Regions from separate parts of the Homo sapiens genome. Here region 2 is linked to region 1. Evidence: promoter capture Hi-C in human tissues and cell types (Jung and others, 2019). All regions are on one chromosome and are shown on one strand. The core of a region is centred on a gene start or on the middle of the fragment in contact, and the rest is flanking DNA. Distances in the headings are between cores, read along the strand shown. Region 1 holds the start of KRT71 (keratin 71). Region 2 holds the start of KRT83 (keratin 83).

Region 1 (3,906 bases), core at 358-2,857:
GGGACTCCTCCAGGCAGGAAGTCTGAGCTGCAGGAGCTGGCTAAGCTCTGATGGCCACATGACCGTCTCACCCATAGACTTTGTCCTGGGTTGACCCGTCCTTGGTGCCTGACTGCCACAGAGCCAACAGAACCCTCCAGTCTCCTCCTCTGGGTCTGGAGGCAAAAGGCTGAGGGTCCAGCCTCACCCTTCCCTTTCCCCAAATGACCCTGGGAATGCCATTTACCTCCATGCCTTCAGTGACTCATACGATAGGGATAATCATTTCTTCTCTGCCAGAAGTCAGGGGCCTATCTGGACTGTGTCATCTCTTCAGGTCTCTAGACACCTTTGATTCCTCCCCTGAGCTTCCCTCCCCCACATTCCAGAGATAAGAAATGAGAGTCACAATCACAATCATTTTTGGAGTATTTAGTGTGCGTCAGGCTTGTGACAAGATCTTCACCTGCATTTTCTTTTATAAGCCTGACAACAACCCCAAGACAGAAGTTATTATCTCCATTTTAGAGATGAGGAGATGGCAACACAGACAGGCAGATCACCTTCCCAGAGCCACTCAGCTGTGGCCAGCAGTGAGCACAAGAGCACCGTGGAGTCCCCTTCCCCAGTGCCCTCTTCTGCCTCTCAAGAAAGTCTTCAACTGACTGGAGCAAATGCCCAATCAGAGGGCCTGAAGCGGCCCCTTCCTGCTGCTCCTGATCCGCTGGGCAAGTGACCAGTGGGCAGGGCAGCATGCCAGGGGAGGAGGACAGCTTCCCTGCTTACTCTGGGCGAGACTGGCTCTCACAGGCCTTTTCTGCACACGGCCTGCAGGCCTAGCAATGGCACCAAGCTAGCCCTCAAGAGGAAGGACCACATCTCTTGCTGGGAGCCCTGAGAAGCCTCTGCCAGTAGAAATTGACCTGCCTCTGTTTTCTCTCTGGAAAGACAACACAGAGAACCTTACACAGGTCACCCTGTTGATGGGATGTACCTACCTTGTCCACAGTAAAGTCTTCCTCACATCTAACCTCAATCTCTCCTGCTGTAACAAAATCGTATGTTCCAAGAAGAGAAGAGGAGGGCTGTTCACAAGTTCCCCAGGCCCTAGAAGACCCACCTTGTCGATGAAGGAGGCGAACTTGTTGTTCAGAGCCTTGATCTGCTCTCGCTCCTGGGCACGCACTTTCTGGATCTCGGGGTCCAGCTCCACGTTGAGGGGGGCCAGGAGGCTCTCATTGACGGTAACCTGGTGGATGCCTCCAGGTGGGCATACAGTTGGGCACACAGGCCCCAGGGCCACACTGCCAAACATGCTTCCAGCAAAGCCACTGGCCCGGCCCCGGCCAAATCCATAGCCTCCACTCTTCCCGCTGCCACTGGCCACATTGAGGCTCCGGACACCCCCCAGGCTGTAGAGGCTCCGGCTGCCAAAGCCCCCACTGAGCCCTTTGCTCCCTGCCCGGAAGGAGGATGAGCTGCCCCCTGAGAGCACAGCTGAGCAGCCACTGAAGCCCCCCTTGGCGGCAGCTCCCGACTTGCAGGTGAATTGGCGGCTCATGTTGCTGGTGGAGACAAAGCTCAGATGCAGGAGGGAGGAAGGCAAAATCCCAAAAGGTTCTGCTGGTTGTAGTGAGGACTGGCAGGTGCCTTTATATGTGCTTGGCACTGGGGCTTGTGGATGGGCAGTCAAGAGCTTAATTCGTGGGTTTGGCTTGCCTGGGAGCAAGAAGTCATTTTCTCTATGCTGAGCTAGAGATCAAGCCCTCTCCACCTCTGAAACAACATGAAACCTTCAAATTGCTGGGCTTGCAAGCTTTGCTCATGTAATTTGGGTCTTATCTAATTAACCTGCTGTTATAGGGTAATTTGCCCCAGGCCCTGGCCTCTCCAGGGGGATGTCACTGGCACTGCACCATCCCTATCCTGATTAATCTTCTCTGGGTTGTTGGCTTCCTCCTGGGGATGCAGCAGGTGAAGACAGGATGGACTTTCCTGGATAGTTCAGGACACTGGGTAGAGTACTGGGGCCTCCAACTTCTGTTCTCCTCCTTCCTGGAAAGGGACTGATCAGGCATTACCTCTCCCCAGGCCTCCTGGAAACATAACCCATAGAGGGCAGCTGCTCTCACTCATGGGGTATTAGGAGGTGGAGTGACCCTCTCGCTAGCATGGGACAGAAGCAGCCCAGGCCAGAGCCAACCACGGGCACTATCCTCACTTCTCCCCCCTCAAACACCCATAATAAAGCAGGCTGGAGGCTTCAAACACTGGAGAAAATGAGGACGAGAAAAGGAGGATGGAGTTGGGGCAGGTGGCTGAGAAATTCAGGGACTTGACTGGAAGGAGGTACAGAGAAGACAAAGACAGAGGCTGGCCCATGGCCTGGAGGGTTATGGAGATTCCTGGGTGGTCCACTTCCTCATTTCTGTCTCTCCTCCAATGTGTATCTGCTAATAAGACTAGGAACAACTTGAGGACAGTAATCATCTGTTTAGAGTTCAAATAAAGAAGCTGTTATCAACATGAAACTTAACTCCTATTGCCTCTGTCCAGGCCCAAGTGAGCCAAGAACAAGGCTGGCTGAGCCCTCCCCAGGAGTGCAAGCCTCCAGGCAGGCTCAGACCAGAAAGACCCAATGGGGGCGACCCAGTAAGCACGATGTCATTCTACTCCAAACAGTCCTTTGATGCCAGCCCCAGAGACTCTGGCTGCAGCCCCTGCTTCCTAGCCACTGGCTCCTGTGTTGGGCCCCAGCTACTCCCATGATCGCCATTGCCACTGTGGCCCTATTCAACCCAAGGCAGCTCTGTCCCTGAAGATCACCCTTGCCCAGAGATCCCTGCTGGAGCCCCATGGGTGAACAGCAGCTCTTTGCTGGGTGGGGCACAGGAGGGAAGAAAATCTGGAGACAGGCTGGTTTGGGGCTCTCTCTCATATTGTTTAGGGGAAGAGCCTGGACTCCAGTCCCTCCCAATCCTCTGCATTCCTTCCTCTACTCTTGCCCCTGCCATTTTGTCTTCTTTGCTCTTACTGAAACTACCCGAATTTTCCTATCCCTGCCTTCTCTCTTTCTCACCTTCTCTCTCCATCCCTCCTCATCCCTCCCATCCATCTTCCCTCCATCCTTCCCTCTCAGCCTTTCGCCATCTCTTGTTCTGTCACTTCCCCATCCTGCTCTCCTCCAGGAGGTCTTCCTGCACCCACACAGGCCAGGTCTGAGCTCTCCTTACCTCCCTCCGCTCTGAACACATCCTTAGCATGTGCTGGTGGGGCTGCAACTCTGTGACAGCTCCCATGGGGATCCTCTGAAGCCATGTCACATGTCATCTTAGTTTTTCTTTGTAAGGCTAGCAGAGTCTTCTCCAGATTAGAGACCACCTAGTGCACTCTGAGATGGAGCAGGGACGCCCTCGTAGGGGCCTTCAGGTCCCCTCAAGCATGGAAATAAAGGACAATCTTGAGTTCCTTCAAGGGAAATTCTGGGCACCTTGCTAGCCTGGAGAAATAAATAAGCAACCTGACAAGCAAGAAGATAACAGTAGCCCAAAACAACAGCCACGAAAGCTGGAATCGTGGGATGTTTGGTTCCGCCATAGAAACTAAAGATAGCACCTTAACATATGTCCCAGAGTTGTTTGTCAGAAACCCAAACCCCACCAAAAGGGATGCCTGGGCACATAGACCTCAGATGAAGGGACACTGGGCACTGAGCTCTGACCACCACTCTTTGTTCTAAATTTCTTCCTGAGGGGCCTGAAGAATGTCACACCTACAAGCCAGAGCTAACACTCTTTTCTGCTGACCCCAAATTTTTAAACAAAGTTTCTCTTCCTTAACCAATTGCAAATCATAAAATCTTTGAATCTGTTTATGACCTGTGAGCTCCCACTTAAAAACATCCTGACCAAACACCGCATGTTCTCA
Region 2 (3,906 bases), core at 618-3,117, 230 kb before region 1:
CCACCTGGAAGTTCTTCCTGGGAGTTAATCTCTTCTAAGTCAGTTTACCTGGTGTCATGGAAAATGCTTGAAGAGTCCAGATTCTGCTGCCACTTGTTAACATTGTGCCCTTGGATAAAGCACTCACCTCCTCTGTAGAGTGGCGAGGTTAAAGCTCACCTTACTATGAGGATTAAAAGAACCCTTTAACAGAAAGGCACCCCACACTGAACAGCTACTGCTGTTCAATCACACCAAGCCAGGTGGACCTTTTTAGAAAGGCAAACTGTAAAAGTTGAAAAATAAAGCATGTGCCAATTATTCAAACCCTACAACAACAATGCAATTAGAATAATAGTCACCTGCAATATGAGAGTAGGAATGTCCTGTGCTCCAACCCCCTTATTTTACTGATGAGGCCAAGGAGGTTCCCTGACTGCCTGAGAGCTCACAGTGGCAGAGAAGAGCTCAAACTCCGATCTTCTGCGCTGCAGGGGGTGTCTTCTCTCCCTTTGACAATTATAGGAACATCCCTCTCCCAGCGATGAGGTTGGCCCACTACTCCACTCAGCTTCTTTTGTCTAATAACTTGGCCACACCCTTGGTAGGTCCTATCTTATGCTATCCTTGGTCTCTCATGCTATTAGAAATTCCACATTTTTTTTTCCCGATCCTTTCTGGTGGGCATCTCTCTAGTGTGACTCCTCTCTTGAGGTTTTGGCTCTGGAGGGCTCTTTCCAACCCCAGAACATGTTCCTAGTCAGAGCCTTTTCTCCCAGTCTCTCACATCACTGCCACATGGTGGTTGCCTGGATTCAGTGGAGAAGGTGGCTGCAAACTCTAGTTGGACACTGACTACACAGATGGTTTCAACCAAACCCAGACTGTGCACTGCCTGCCTCCCCATAAAGCCTGTGAGGATGGGGACCATGACTCTTGCTCACCCCTGGATCCTGAGCCCCAGGAACAGTGGCTTGGACAAAATACTCTAGACCCTGCTCAGTGGCCAAATCACTGTGTGGTATAGAAAGAGTTCTGTGCCATCCACGAGACCCACTTCCAGACAGTTTTCCAGCACCACACTTATTAGCCCTGCCTTGATGGAGACAGCATCTCCTTGGCATTTAAGCAGTTATTTGGCTTCAAATGCCCTGAGCGCCCACACAGTGGTCCTTTGCTCACTAGGTGATATTATCACTCAGTGTGGAAGGCTCTGCCCCTCGTTCTGCTTTTGTGTTTTCAGTTAATCTCCCCCATCAGTCTGGTAGCTCCCGGTCCCATTTTTGTCTTTCTGTCTGTGTCCTAGAAGTATGACTACCTTTCCCTTTGGCCTGGGAACTTCTGTGGGCAAGTTCTTGCCTTTGACTTCCCTGTCAGTGCCCAGCCTGAGTTCTGAACATGAGTAGGGGTTCAGGAAGGGTGTGATCCAGGACGACACCCACCTTGTCGATGAAGGCCGCGAATCTGCTGTTGAGGGACTTGATCTGCTCCTTCTCCTCCTGCTTCACGCACTGCGCGTTGGGGTCTATCTCCAGGTTGAGGGGCGTGAGGAGGCTCTCGTTGACCGACACGGTGGTGATGCATGGGGGGCTGGGTCCGCACACGCCCCCGGAGCGGTAGCCGAAGCTGCGTCCGCAGGAGCCGGCGCGGAAGCCCCCGCACACGCTGTGGCTGCCAAAGCCCCCGGTGAGGCCGCGGTAGCAGGAGATGCCGCGGTAGGGGGCGGCGGTGATGCAGCAGCGGCTTGGCCGGGGCCCGCAGGCAGAGACACAGCTGAAGTTTCCAGGGCGGAACCCACAGCCTATGGAGTTGAAGCCACAGGTCATGACGGAGGTTAGGAGGTGTCTGAACAGTGGAGTAGATGGCAGAGGATGGAACCAAGGGCCTGTGCTCCCTGGCTGATGGCAGGCCCTTTTATGTGCCAGGGGCAGCTGGTGTTAAAAGAGGGAGCAAAGAGACAATAGCTGAATTTTATTGGCTTGGCATCACCCTGGCCTCTTAAGCTAGAACCCTGCTTGCCTCTTCAGTGTGGCTGCATCAACAATCCCTGGCCACGGGCCCTGTTTCATCTTCAAAGCCCTTTATAAGCTTCCTCCTTGCTCCTGCCCCTCCCACTGGCACTGCTGTGGAGCGGGGAGAGGGGTTCCTGAAAGCATTAGTTGCATTCTGCGGTCCAAGCGAGGGGAATGGGTGCAGTGACCTGGGGTAAAGCCTGCTCTCTGAACCCTGTTCTGAAAGGGGCAGAGCTAGGCTATGGGCCCTGGACCCATGGCCAAGCCCTGGGGTGGAGTGGCTGGCCTGTCCCAAGGAGGGGGCTGCCTCTGAGACAACCTCTTGCTGTAGGCTTTCCTGTCTTTTTCTCAAAGGCGGGTTCCTTTCCTCATTGTCAAGATTGGCCGCTCCTATCCTATTCCTGCTCAGAGCCTGGTCAAGGATGGGAGTGGGGGTAGAGATTTGGGGTGGGAGGAGGGCATGTTCTTTGCACTTTGGGTATTCCTAGTGCAGGGACACCATCTGGGACATGGAAGAAACTGATTCAGAGAGTTCAGGACAGTGCCAGGGCTATGCTTCAGAGTTCCAGGTGTCATTGCTGATGGGATCAGGAGCGGGGAGTGTGGAATACCTCAGAGCTCCAGGGACTCATGGAGGAGAGTGGGGACCTGGGCTTGAGGAGGATTGGGGTGGGGTAGTACAGGATTGAGAGATGACCAGAAAAGAGTCTGGCTCTGATTTGCAGACTAGACTATGTGTATTCATTTATTCATTTATTCATTTATTCATTTATTCAGGAAATACTTATTTGGTGCCCACCAACTATGCACTAGCCACTGTGCTAGGTTCTGGAAATCCTACAGAGACCTGGGGTGTTTGGAGGTAGCATGCATGTGGGGGAGCCAACATTTGGCTAGGGGGAAAGATGAGAAGCCACAGATGGGGGGAAGGCCCTCACAATGTCCAGGCTGATTGGTGTTCTTTAGGTTCCCAGCAGGGAAGCTCAGTGATGGGGTCTTGGGGTGTATGTACTCACCAGGAAGGAGGGAAGGTGCGGGAGGTGAGGGACATCAGCAGGGTCCTTAAATGAGATCACTCTCTCACCTCAGAGAACACACTGGGTGAGAGAAGGGTGCTAGCTCATGTGGCTGTTCCTAAAGCCAAGCTCTCTTACTTTGGGCCCTTGTTCCTTTGGGTTAGGACAGGCAATGGCTTTGATGGATGGACAGTCGGACCGAGCCAGGAGGTTTGCCTTAACCCGAGGACCTGAGCCCATCAACCCTTCCAAACACACATCTCTGGACTGCTTTCGTCAGGAGAGGATGAGGAGGACTCCACTGATGGACCTGTGTCCTGACCCAGCCACAACCCAACACTGACCCACTCTGGGCTAATAGTAACCCTCCTGTGACTCTCATCTTTTGCCCTTCCCACTCCCGCTCAGGATGAGTGGGCCAGTTATATCCCAGAGTGGGGATCTGGGGATGATGGAAGAGGGGCCCATCTTCTGTGGGCCTGAGGGAGGGCAGGCGATGGTGCTGTTGAAATCTCTTAGGGAGCTGGACATCTGCCATGGATCCAAAAAAAGGACTCTCCTAGCCTCTCTTCTTGGGTCCTGTGGACAGGCTTCCAGAGTCTTGTGTCTGGGGCAGGAACTCTGGGGGTGTGGGCTGTGTGATAGGGGATCCTGGTGTGAAAGACACACCAGGGAGGCACAGCCTGAGGGTACCTGGGGGGCCTGGGGGTGGCTGACTGCAGCTGAGTGGCTAGTGGGATTTTGGGAGCATCTTTGAGGGAGGCTGGGCTGGCTGGTGCTGTCATGTTCAGTCTTGGTTGGGTCAAACATCTGCTAGACAGCCAAGAAAGACCAGGCTCTTCACCCACCCACACTGGAACCAGTGAGCACCTGGAATGCTCTCCACACATATCCAATGA

The links. Contacts are between HindIII fragments. The study calls those that stand out against the background at their distance.
Region 2: a contact is called between the fragment with the promoter of KRT83 here and the fragment with the promoter of KRT71 in region 1, in 2 of the 25 tissues and cell types used here (adrenal gland and heart left ventricle).

Annotation. Positions count from the first base shown.
Region 1 is chr12:52,551,538-52,555,443 of GRCh38, forward strand. It overlaps KRT71 (keratin 71), which reads right to left and starts at 1,608. Exons shown (of 9, transcript NM_033448.3): 1 at 1,100-1,608. The coding sequence starts at 1,540. The HindIII fragment of the contact is 12,426 bases long and covers 1-3,906 here.
Region 2 is chr12:52,319,531-52,323,436 of GRCh38, forward strand. KRT83 (keratin 83) reads right to left here and starts at 1,868. Exons shown (of 9, transcript NM_002282.3): 1 at 1,422-1,868. The coding sequence starts at 1,805. The HindIII fragment of the contact is 13,306 bases long and covers 1-3,906 here.